2 separate regions of the Homo sapiens genome follow, and region 2 is linked to region 1. The links are contacts of gene promoters, found by promoter capture Hi-C in blood cells and fetal thymus (Javierre and others, 2016). All regions are on one chromosome and are shown on one strand. Each heading gives the region's core, a stretch centred on a gene start or on the middle of the fragment in contact. The rest is flanking DNA. Distances are from core to core; before and after follow the strand shown.

What was found. The method cuts DNA at HindIII sites, captures the fragments that hold promoters and counts their contacts. A CHiCAGO score of 5 or more calls a contact.
Region 2: a contact is called between a fragment that was not itself captured here and the fragment with the promoter of SPATA31G1 in region 1, in 1 of 17 cell types (M0 macrophages). The highest score is 5.9, in M0 macrophages.

The regions. Positions count from the first base shown.
Region 1 is chr9:35,040,779-35,047,393 of GRCh38, forward strand. It overlaps SPATA31G1 (SPATA31 subfamily G member 1), which reads left to right and starts at 1,462. Exons shown (of 2, transcript NM_203299.4): 1 at 1,462-1,707; 2 at 2,083-5,208. The coding sequence starts at 1,477. The coding sequence ends at 5,091. The HindIII fragment of the contact is 2,574 bases long and covers 1-2,545 here.
Region 2 is chr9:35,469,633-35,476,247 of GRCh38, forward strand. It overlaps the pseudogene ATP8B5P. Among named protein-coding and RNA genes, the nearest start is that of RUSC2, 17 kb to the right of the region's middle. The HindIII fragment of the contact is 794 bases long and covers 3,455-4,248 here.

The sequences.
Region 1 (6,615 bases), core at 212-2,711:
TTTAATACAGCATACATTATATTATTCTAAGCATATATATTTATTCATTTAATCCTTGTTAGAAATGCTTGTTCCCCAGTGCCGTGAAGAAATAGCACTTGAACATAAATTTAATTTCCTCAGCAAGGCTATTTTTACTTTCTGCAGAAACGGTACACTCACCAGCAGTTTTGCCATGAAGAGTACACCGAACAAAGGAGGCAGGGTCATTTATAGCCTGACGCATCCACCCTACTGCTGTGTCCGGTTTCCATTGGCTGGAACAGGACCTCGCTTTCTGTATTTGTCCTGATTGGCTAACAACTTAGAACTTTTTAAAAAGAGGCAAAGGCAGAGAACAAAGGAAGGAGGAAGTTAACTTGTGGAATGCTGAGAAAGGTAAAAACACCTTCAAATAAGGAAGAGGAACAGGCTATGACCTAATGCTTGCTTGGACCAATATAAGCATGCCAGGGCAAATATTTAGGCTAAATTGTGGAAGCTAAGAACATAAAGTAAATTGATTTATTACGGCTAGCAGATATTTAAGAATGTTAACAGAGGTCTTTGAATAAATTTTGCTTCTAAGAGATGTTACTATTTATTCCTAATAAGATGGAGAGGAAAGTCTTTGAAGAGGAACCTCTACTTTACTTTTTACATCCTCAAAACAACCCTGTGTAGTAAGTAATAATATTATTGTGCTGGGTAGAGTGGCCCATGCCTGTAATCCCAGCTACTCAGAGGCTGAGATGGAAGGCTCTCTTGAGCTCAGGAGGTCAAGACCAGCCGGGGCAATACAATGAGACCTTGCCTCTAAGAATAATATGCCAGGCAAGATGGTTCACGCCTATAATCCCACCACTTTGGGAGGCCAAGGCGGGAGGATCCCTAGAGCTCAGGAGTCGAGACCAGCCTGGGCAATATAGAGAGATCCTGTCTCTACAAAAATAAAAAATATAAAAATTAGCTGGGCACGGTGGCACATGCCTGTGGTCCCAGCTACTCAGGAGGCTGAGGCAGGAGGAGCACTTCAGCCCAGGAGGTTGAGGCTGCAGTGAGTCGTGATCACACCACTGCACTCCAGCCTGGGTGACACAGTGAGATTCTGTCTCAAAATAATAACAATAAATATCTATAAAATAAAGATAATGATATCTTTATTTTATAGATAAGAAAAATGAGGCACTGAAAAAATTAAGTAGTTTGAGTTTTCACAGGTAGGAAAATGACAGAGCTATGATTTGAATAAGGCAGTTCGGTGCTAGAATCCATGTACTTAACCACAATGCCTGAAGCATAATTCTGAACTGGGCAATCAAAAGGGGATCACCCACATTTCACTGTGTGAAGCATGAATTGCCTGATAGAGGAAATTTTTTTTGGTTCTAAATTCAGGGAGAAGGCTGTTAAGCCCAGGCCTCTGTGGGGGATGGGAGTTCTTTGTTCTGTGATGCAATGATGACCTCAGGGTAAACTGCCAGAAGGCTAAGGGAAATGGAATGGCTGCTGGAGGACCTGCTTGGGGCTAAGGGGGATATGGGGCTTCTCTGGGGCCAACTGACCCATGCCCTAGCCTGCAGACACTGCGGCAGCAGCTGCTTCCAGAGTCCAGGAAATCTGGTGACACTATTCTTATTCGTGGTTTGGCAGATTCAGAGATGGTGGCAGCTTGGGAGGTTGCGACAGCTTCATCCCTGGTGCTCTGGGAATATGGTGCAAGGCAAGGTGGGTGACCTGTGACTGTACAGCTGGATGAATGACTGCTGACACCACATGTGAGGTCATTGGTATGAATGTGGGCCCAGGTGAGTGACTATAAGCCCTAGATGTGAGGCTGGGTGAGTAACCACTGACACTAGATTTGAAGCCAGGTGAGTGACCATGGATTCTAGATGTAGAATGAGGGAATACTGATCTCCAAATGAGGACTGGGTAATGACCATTAACACTAGATGAGGAGCTGTGTAGGTGACTGGCCACACACGTGGGATTAGGTGAGTAACTGTCCACTCTGGATATGGAGCAGACTGAGTGCCTCATAGCAAACCTTGTGTATCTGAAAAGGCTTCATGCCTGAGAATATCTTTATCTACTTCCCAGGAACTACCACTTCTGCACCGTGTGGCCTTCCTTGATCACCTGTGTAAGCAGAAATCAGAAGTGGAGGAAGAAGGGGAAGAAGAGGAAGAGGGGGAAGACGAGGCATCTCTGGATCCACTGAAGCCATGTTCTCCTACCAAAGAAGCTCCCACTGGAGAGCAAGCCACTCCAGCCCCACCCCAGCCATCCTGTGGTTCTGAGGGCCTCCTCAAGGCTATAGGGATACCAGAGCAAACAGTCATGCAGCCCGTGAGCCCTTCCAGATCCTTCCCCATCTTCCAGATTCTGACCAGCTTTCCTGTGAGGCACAAGATAGCATCAGGGAACCGCCAGCAGCAGAGAAAAAGCCAGCTCTTCTGGGGTCTCCCCTCTCTGCACAGCGAGTCCTTGGAGGCCATCTTCCTGAGCTCAGGTGGCCCCTCTCCTCTGAAGTGGTCTGTTTGTTCTTCTGTCTTCTTCAACAAGCTTGCCTTCCTACCTAGGTCCAACCTGTTGCTTCCCCAGTATCACTCCTCAGCCCAGTTTTCTACCCATGGGGCCCATACTATGGAAGATCTAGAAGGGATGGCCCCCGATCCTCAGCTGCTTCCACCTCCATCTTCTCCTTCTGTCTCATCACTACTCCTCCATCTGAGGCCCTTCCCTGTGGACCACAAGGGAGTTTTATCTGGCGCTGAGGCACCCACACAGTCCCCTGGAACTAGCCCCCTGGAAGTTCTCCCTGGATATGAGACTCATTTGGAAACCACAGGACACAAAAAGATGCCCCAAGCTTTTGAGCCTCCGATGCCACCCCCCTGCCAATCCCCAGCTTCTCTGTCAGAACCCAGAAAAGTTAGCCCTGAAGGAGGACTTGCTATATCTAAGGACTTCTGGGGAACCGTGGGATACAGAGAGAAACCTCAGGCCTCTGAGTCTTCAATGCCAGTCCCTTGCCCTCCCCTAGACTCCCTGCCAGAACTCCAGAGAGAGAGTTCCCTGGAAGATCCATCCAGATATAAGCCCCAGTGGGAATGCAGAGAAAACTCAGGAAACCTCTGGGCTTTTGAGTCTCCAGTCTTGGACCTCAACCCAGAGCTCTCTGGAACCAGCCCTGAATGTGTCCCACCAGCATCTGAGACACCATGGAAGGGCATGCAAAGTAGAGAAAATATTTGGGTCCCTGCAGACCCAGTTTCACCTCCCAGCCTTCCCTCAGTCCCTCTCCTGGAGTCTCTAGTAATGGGCCCCCAGGGAGTCCTGTCTGAATCCAAAGCTTTGTGGGAGACCATGGGGCAGAAAGAGAACCTCTGGGCATCTGATTCCCCAGACCCTGTTCATAGCACACCTCCAACCACCCTTATGGAACCACACAGAATCAATCCTGGGGAATGCCTCGCTACATCAGAAGCTACATGGAAGGATACTGAGCATTCCAGGAATTCCTCGGCTTCTAGGTCTCCATCTCTGGCCCTCAGCCCACCCCCAGCTCTTGCACCGGAGCTGCTCAGAGTTAGATCCATGGGGGTCCTGTCTGATTCTGAAGCTAGATGTGGGGACATACAAAAGACAAAAAACTCCTGGGCCTCTAAGCACCCAGCTTGTAACTTACCCCAAGACCTGCATGGAGCCAGCCCTCTGGGAGTCTTGTCTGATTCTCAGTCTATTGTAGGGGAAATGGAGCAAAAAGAAAACTGTGTTCCTGTGTTCCCAGGTAGGGGCTCCAGCCCATCCTCAAACTCTGTTTCAAAGTCCCACGTAAGTGAGCCTATCGCAGACCAAAGCAACTATAAGCCTGACGGGGAGGCAGTGGAGCAAAGAAAGAACCACTGGGCCACTGAGCTCCCAGCCCCCAGCTCACTCTCTACTCCTCTACCAGAGCCACACATTGACCTTGAACTTGTGTGGAGAAATGTGCAACAAAGAGAAGTTCCCCAAGGCCCCAGCCCTCTGGCAGTGGATCCCCTACACCCAGTACCCCAGCCTCCCACCCTAGCTGAAGCTGTGAAGATTGAACGCACTCATCCTGGTCTACCCAAGGGAGTAACGTGCCCAGGGGTTAAGGCAGAGGCCCCACTCTCCCAGAGATGGACTGTCCCAGAGTTGCTCACCCATCCTGGGATCCATGCCTGGCAGTGGAGTAGAGAGCTGAAACTCAGGCTGAAGAAACTGCGGCAGAGCCCTGCCTCCAGAGCCCCTGGCCCAAGTCAATCATTTTGCAGCTCCCCTATTCTGAGCTCCACAATTCCAGACTTCTGGGGACTCCCTTCCTGCCCACCACAGCAGATTTATCCCCCCAATCCATGCCCCCACTCTTCAAGTTGTCATCCTCAAGAAGTTCAGCGCACAGTACCTCAGCCTGTCCAGTCCTCCCACTGTCATCACTTCCAATCCTCTTCCCAGCTTCAGCCACAGGAGTCTGGCAGGGCGGAACAAGGGTCTCAGAGAGGGGAGAAAATGAAGGGGAAGATGGTGAGCCAGGTCCCATCCCAAGGGCCATGTGTACACATGGAGGCTGGTGTGGACTATCTATCTCCAGGCCCAGGAGAACCCTCAAACTCTAAGGTTCTGGTCTCAGGCAAGAGAAAGGACAAGGCTTCAGCCTCATCCTCAGCCAAAAAGAGAGAGCACCCTAGGAAACCCAAAGCAGGAGACCATAGAAGAGGGACTGCAAGGTTGGGGTTATCCACAGTCACAGGGAAGAACCACCCTGCCCAGGCCAGAAGCCTAGTAGAGGCCCCTGTAAGCACATTTCCCCAAAGGTCTCAACACAGGGGCCAGAGCTCTCAACACACTGCTCTTCCCCAGCTGCTTCTCCCCAAAGCTTCGGGTCCCCAGGATCAGCCAGAGGCAGGGCGAAGAGCAAGTGACATCCTGACCCCTCGCCACTGTAAGCACTGTCCTTGGGCCCACATGGAGAAGTATCTCTCCTTCCCTACCCTCAAGGCTTCCCTTACCAGGGGTTTGCAAAAGGTGTTAGCCAAATGCCTGGATAACCATCGACCCCTACCCACCAAATCTAGTCAGTAGAGAAAAGGCTGGTAATACTAGCACTTGGTATGCCAAGACCTGAAGCCAAACCAGGGGGAAGGTGGGGATGTGGAGACAAGAAATGGAAATTCTAATAAACTAGCTGAATTAGATAAATCCCATTCATGTCTTCTTTGGAATCTAGGGTACTGAAAATGTCAATTCCCAATTCTGCTACAGCCATAGCCCCTCAGTTTCAAGTCCCAGTAGAGCACTCAGGATTCTGCAGGCTTAACTCTTTTGTGGATCTTCACAGATGATCACATCTGGAGTCCACACATCCCTACTCTATAGGGTGAGGCTACAGGGCCAGGTCAGCATAGCCCAAAGCCGCCCTTGAGAGGGAACGACTTCACAGCATGTGAACAAAAAACTACATCCATTCACACGAGCACAGGTCATCTGAGTCTAGGCAACTGTGCTTTGTCCTGGGTATTGTTCTCTTCTTCATCCACTTGACCTGTAAGTTCTCCACGTATCTTTCTGACCATTTCTTCTCAGCCCTCTGCTCTTTTCTCTCCCTGGGTCAGCTCATCCATCTCCAAGGCCATGAAAACAAGTGTCTTTTAATACGTCTAGTAACCGTCTGGATTTCTATAATCACCGGGTCATATCCTCTACCCATTTTCTAATGCACTATTTGTTGGACATTGTATTAGTCAATGTATTACAGTTTTCTACTGCTGCTGTAACAAATTACCACAAAACAAATTTATTTTGTCAGAAGTCTGACACGGAGCCTGGGTGCAGTGGCTCACATCTGTAATCCCAACACTTTGGGAGGCTGAGATGGGCTGATAGCATGAGCCCAGAAGTTTGAGACCAGCCTGGGCAACATGACAAAACCCTGTCTCTACAAAAAAAAAAAAACAAAAAAACCACAAAAATTAGCTGGGCATGGTGGTGCATGCCTATAGTCCCAGCTACTGGGCAAGGTGAGGTGGGAGGATCACCTGAACCAGAGAGGTCAAGGCTACAGTGAGCCACTGCACCACTACATGCCAGCCTGGGCAAAAGAGACCCTGTCTCCTCCCCGCAAAAAAAGTCTGACACATGTCTCACAGGGCTAAAATCAAGGGGTTGGCAGGCCTACATCCTTTTCTCTAGGCTCTGGGTAGGATTCACTCCTTGCCTTTCCCAGTTTCTAGAGGCTGCCCACATTCCTTGGTTACTGACCCCCTTCTTCTATCTTTAAAGCTAGCAAAGGCAAGTCAAGTTCTTCTCACATTGTATCACTCTGACCTCTTCTGCCTCCCTCTTCCACTTTTTTTTTTTTTTTTTTTTTTGAGATGGAGTCTCGCTCTGTCTCCCAGGCTGGAGTGCAGTGGCACGAACTCGGCTCACTGCAAGCTCCGCCTCCCAGGTTTTATGCCGTTCTCCTGCCTCAGCCTCCCGAGTAGCTGGGACTACAGGTGTGCACCACCTACGCCGGGCTAATTTTTTTGTATTTTTAGTAGAGACAGGGTTTCACCATGTTAGCCAGGATGGTCTCGAACTCCTAACCTCGTGATCCGCCCGCCTTGG
Region 2 (6,615 bases), core at 2,602-5,101, 430 kb after region 1:
AAACATACACACAAATTTGGTGATGCTTAAAGCATGGGTAGTTTCCCCAGGAAGATAGGCCAGGCAGCCCATAGTTTACCAATGAGATAGGTCCAAACATTCACTTGTAAGTCAATTAATCAGAATTCAGAATCCATTTTCCCACACAAACAGTGTGACAGATGGTAGATAGGTGTAATTGTGACCTAAGTTCAACTCCTAAAAGTTGTGGAAGAGAAGAGGAAGGGTTTCCCTTCCTCTTTTTCATAAGCACCTTGAATGAAAATTTGAAATAGCTGAAAAAAGTATTTACCCTACTCTGATCATCCTTTTCTGGGTTCTGCATTTCCTTACACATACACACACCCAAACACATTTTAGTTTCCTCCTTTCCAGGCTTTCTAAACCCTGTACCGGGGCTTTTTGGCAATAAAAAAAAAAGGACCCTATGTAACTAGATTACCTTATTTAGTAATATTTATTGAGTATCTACTATGTGCTAAGGTTTAGAGAGATTGCTATGGTGGCTGATATGGTAAAGGATGGGAGGGGTCCCAACTCCAGGCATAGAGATTATCAGTAATGAGTCAATGATGAGGACCTGAGCACCTCCTTCCTCACCTCAAAGGAAAAAATCCCCATCTGTCAGTGCAGCTGTCTCAGACAGGGATTACTAATAATCACTCTTATAATAAAGCAGACTAACACACATTAAGTATGAATGATGATAAGAAGGAGACCCCTTAAAAGTCTTCACTGTTTTAAAATGAACATGCTTGTTAGCCATAAAGAATCTATAATGGACGCTATTTGGAGCAGAAGAGGAGTATGACAGAGGCAATAGGGAAAACTTATATAAAATGAGAAGAGGTTGTTGTGGGAGGAGACACACCACAGGCAGGCTGGCTCTGCCTGGAAATTTATCAGAGGGTCAGCCCATAAACTATTCCTGATTTTCATAGCTTCTTTCCTTCTTCTGAAATAAACTCTGAGTGTGTCAAGGTTCTCTGTCTTCCCCATGTGACAGGAGCAATAATCCTCCAATTGGGCCAACACAGCCTTTTATAAGTTAACTGTTACTCTATCACACCTTGCATTACTGCAGAAATTCCAAAATTGTAACTTTTCCTGGATACATTATGGAAAAAAAAAAAAAGAATAAAAGCCAGGTATGACTCAAAAAAGTTAATCAAGTATATCTGGGTCCAGGTGGTAAAGCCTTGGGTGATAATGGCCAAAGTCAGCATTACAATGGGTTGGCTGGTGGGAAGGGTCCTTCAGAAGGGTAGAATCCCAAGGAAGACACTCTGATTTTCAGATGCTTAGCCCTGCTAAGAAAGAAACCAGGATGATATATTTGCTTGTCCTGTTCTGACGCAGAACCATTCTTTTTCTGCTTTCTCCTTAGTGTTGAAATAATAAGATTGGGCAACAGTTTATATATCAACTGGGATCGGAAGATGTTTTATGCACCAAGGAACACACCAGCACAGGCTCGTACTACCACCCTTACTGAGGAGCTCGGCCAAGTCAAATATGTGTTCTCTGACAAAACAGGGACTCTGACTCAGAACATTATGATTTTCAACAAATGTTCTATTAATGGGAAGCTCTATGATATGCATGTCTTCCTGCTTTCCCCAAGTCCTGGGAAATTTTTACTTTGCAAATTGTTTTCAAGACTAATCTAGCTCTAAATCTGTAAGCCTCTGGAATTCACATTTATCTCCTATTCTCACAACTGTCTCTATTCTCTAAGCAAAGACCACCCAGCCCAAACAGTTCTAACCAAAAAGCATTTATTTAGCATCTTATAGGTACAATCTATTGTGTTGGGCATTGAGAATACCGAGATGTGCAAGACTTAGTCTCTGTCCTCAAGGAGTCCCCAATGTCTATGTACTCAGTTCACTCCCACTTTAAATCAGATGGATGTTGGTCAAAGGGTACAAAGTTTCAGTTAGGCAGGAGGAATAAGTCTTCAAGATCCATTGCACAGCATGTTGATCCTAGTTAATAATAATGTATTGCATATTTCAAAATTACTAAAAGAGTTTTAAATGTTCTCACTACAAAAAAATAAGTATGCAAGGTGATAAATATGTTAGTTAGCTTGATATAATCATTCCATGGTGTATACATATATGAAAACATCACATTGTATCCATAAATATATACAATTAGTATTTGTCAATTAATAATAAAATTAAAAATAAATTAAATGGAGCAGTCAATGTATTACTGAAGCTGCTAATTTCTTGATTCCCCTTTACAGCAATAAATATTATTGAGAGAAACCATCAAAGGGTAGTCAGAGTTTGATCAGTGTCTCCCAGGCCCAATCCCTTATTTATCTTATGCCTTAAGCATAAGCTTGTTTTTGTGATAGAGTTAAGTCCTCATGTGTGTGAACAGTCATACCCAGTGTCCTAGCTAACAGAGGAAGGTAATCACATCTAAAAAACTAGAACACATGGAATAATCTTTCTGGGGTGACGAAAAAGTTTAGAAACTTGAGAGAGGTGGTAGTTGCACATTGTAAATGCACTAAATGCCTCTAAATTGTACACATTAAAATGGATAATTATATGTTAACTAAGTAAATTTCATATCAATAAGTAATTGAAATTTTTTAATTAAAAAAAGCTAGGCCGGGTGCGTTGGCTCACGCCTGTAATTTCAATACTTTGGGAGTCTGAGGCAGGCGGATCACCTGAGGTCAGAAGCTCGAGACGAGCCTGGCCAACATGGTGAAACCCCATCTCAACAAAAAATACAAAAATATTAGCCAGGCATGGTGGCACATGCCTGTAATCCCAGCTACTTGGGAGGCTGAGGTGGGAGAATTTCTTAAACCCGGGAGGTGGAAGTTGCAGTGAGCCAAGATCATGCCACTGCACTCCAGCCTGGGTGACAAGAGTGAAACTCCTGTCTAAAAAAAAAAAAAAAAAAGACTAGAGCACTCTAATATTTCCTATTATTTCCTATATTTCCTATTATTTGTTTGGTAACCATGTCAAACAAATTTTCACTTATATAAACTCTGAAGGCTTATTTTTGGATGAGCTGATTTGGGTGAGCCTCTTAATTCTCTGACCTGACCATATACTGGGTAAAGTTGAAAAGGACCATGAGTGTTTCCATGCTTGGCATCAGACATGTCTTCTACCCCTATTCAGTCTGTCATCCACTGGTCAAGAATCCCAAACATTCTAAAACTGTGTCCACATCTCTTCTGGGTAACTCTTATGATTGGAGGGCTTCCTGAGGTGTGAAGTCTATCACAGATCCAGTGACTAACTTCTAGCTTCATCTTATTCTCACTTAGGGGAGAAGAGTTGAGGCCCAAGCAAACCTCTTCTTACCATTGGCTTAGGGAAAGGAGCTTACTGGGAACTGGGAGCTAGGTGGCCTGAGGAGACTGGGGGGCAGGCATCTTGACTGCAAGTCTAGGATGAAGGAATCAGAATAAATAAGCTTTTAAGGCCCCTCCTTTAAATCACCATATGACCCAGCAATTTGATTCCTAGGTATATACCCCCAAAACTTGAAAACAAGAACTCGGATACATGTATACCAACGTTCATTGTGACATTATTCGCATAAGTCCAGAGATAGAAATAACCCACATGTCCATCCACAGATGAATGGATAAAGAAACTGTGGTATAGCATATACATACAATGGAATGTGAATCATCCATAAAAAGTAATGAAATTTGATACATGCTACAACATGGATGAACCTTGAAAGCATTATGCTAAGTGATGTAAGCTAAACACAAAAAGACAAAAATTTTATGATTCTACTTATGTGAACTATCTAGAATAGGCAAATTCATAGAGACAAAAAATAGACTAGAGGTTACTAGGGGCTGGTGATGGGAAAAAATGGGAAGTTTCTGTTTGGGGTGCTGAAAAAATGTTGGAAATATATAGTGGTGATTGTTGCACAACATTGTGAATATAATTAATGTCATTGCATTTTACATTTAAAATAGTTAAAATGGCAAGTTTTATGTGATATATATGTATATTTTTTTAACAACAATTTAAAGAAATTCAAACCCTCCTTTAAAACCCTTGCCAAGTCTCTGCTGTGTTCACTTACCAACAGGTGATACTTATGACAAGGATGGACAGAGGGTGACGGTCTCTGAGGTGAGTGATTACAGCTCCATGGGAAATGCATGTGGGAGCTGAGTGAGGCTGTGCTTCAGAGAAGCATCCTTAATACAAATCGAGACTCCCTTAGCCACTGAAATATTAAAGCTTTTACTGGTCCTGTAATATCAGAAAGCATTATATAAATGACCTATGTTTAATTCTGAAGATCTTCGTTTGTTCTTTTTAAACAAAAATAGCTTTATTGGCTTTTTCTCTTTAAAAAATAATCCATGCTCACTGTAAAAAAAAAAATTAAATAATACAGAAATGTGTGAAGAAAGTTAAAATTATTCCATCCCATTTAGATAGCCAGTGTAAAGTTGGGGAGTATATCCTATGCTTTTCATATGTGTATACACACACACATATGTACATCTAGATCTAGAAGATGGGGGAGATAAAATCATAGTATGCATGCTATTTCCAGTTTCCTTTTGTTCACTTGACACTATTATTGTCGTCATCTTTCCATGTCGGTAGGTCTAGGTCTACATCATCATTTTGAATGGGTGTCCACTATTCAGTTGTATCACTGTACCTTAATTTATTTAATTTCTTATTTTTATTCCATTTTCCTTTGCGATTACAAATGACATTTTGGTAATCATTATGGAACATACATTTTGTCTACTTTTCTGATAATTATTTCTTTAGAATAAAGTCCTAGAAGTAAAATTCATTGGTCAAAAGGTAGCCACGTTTTAATACATTAAATAGTGCCACATTGCCCTCCAGGTAGATTCGCATAACTTTATAATCCCACCAAAAATATATGACATTTTGTTTTCCCCCATATGCTTGTCAGAACTGGTATTAACAATTTTTAATCTGTTGAAATTTAATTGATGAAAAATGGTATCTAATTATTTAATTTACCTTTTTTGATGACTAATTAGGTTGAATCATTTTTATGTGCTTATTTTTCTTCCCCTTATCATCTCTTTATTGCCCATTTACACTTACTTTGTGAACTGTCTATTCATATTCTTTGGCCTTTTTTTCTTATTTGAAAATGCTCTTTATACAGTAAAAATACTAGCTCTTCCTTTTTCTGGTGCATATGTTATAATTATTTTTCCCATTTTGTCTTTTGGTTTTTAATTTGTTAAATAATATTTTGTGTAGAAGTGTTTAATTCATGTAATCAAATCTATCAGTCATTTTCCTTTGTAACTTAAGGATTTGTGACATATTCAACAGGCTTTATAAAATTATAAAAATATCTTCCTATTCATTCTTCTTATCTCTAGTTGGTTTTTACTGTTTTCTCTAGTATTGGACCCAGCTTTTGTTTATGGATTTGTTTTTAAGTGTCCCTTCACAGGGGTTCTTCTGCTGCCTTCAGGGTATTCCTCACCTTATCTCTGTCTTGCTAGACCCAATTCCAAACTGAGCCACTTGACTTATGTACCAAACATCTGACTCCAGTTCTCAACTGTTGCCTTACCCCTGTCCATCCAAAGAGATTGGGAAGGGGAAGGAAATTCAGTGATTTGCCTTAAATCATCTTCCAGGGGCTTGGCTAATGACCTTGGCAATATAGGCAAAATTATAGCTTCTAGGGAGTAAATCCCTCCTGGAGTTTCTTTCCTCTCCTTCTGTCCACTACTGATTGACCGTAACACATTTTTCACTAAATCACTGGAATTTTTGTTCTCTTATAAACAAACTTACCTATAGCCTCAATCCCTTCATTAATTGAAACATGATTTTCCCTGAGAACATTCCTTTTTCTTCCATCTCTCTCATACTCTGCATACCATAAACTCTGGATACCATAAGCCCAAAGGTGTTGCCCTCATTATCCTGTGCCATGTTTAACCATTAGTTTTTCTCTCCTACACAATCTTTCTTCCTGTGATGCTTATGACTTCTGGCTATACTCATCTGTAACTCTTCTTGTTGTTGATATCTAGGAAGCTTCTGGCTTCTACACCCCATTCATTGAGGGCTTTGAAACTTCTCCCTCCCCTCCCAACCACTGCTATTGTTTTGGGTGGTATTGTCATCCTTATGGACGACCTATCACTGTAGACTCTTTCAGGTCTCTGAAAGAATCCTTCAGATGATCTCTTGGACAAAAAAAAAAAAAAATCTGTATCACCCATTTCCATGTTACCATGTAATTGTCCAGAGTTGTACTAATGTGGAATTATAAACTTTCTTTTCACAATCTTTGATCACAAACCTTATTCCTCCATATTCTCAGTACATGGCTCGTACTTGAGATTTTTAAAAGTATTCCTGCTTTTTTATCTCATGGAGATTTATAAACCCTTGGCTTTCTTTTTTCTCCAGTCTATCAATTCCTTATGACTTTACTTCCTTTCCTAGCTTGCCTGTCTGTACCCTGGGATCATAAGCATCCTCAGTACCTTACTAGTTCTCCTTTTCTTCTCTTTAATCACTGAACAAATCTCAACCTTGAATTAACCAAACCATCGACCCTGCTCTGTTTCTAATTTGAGAG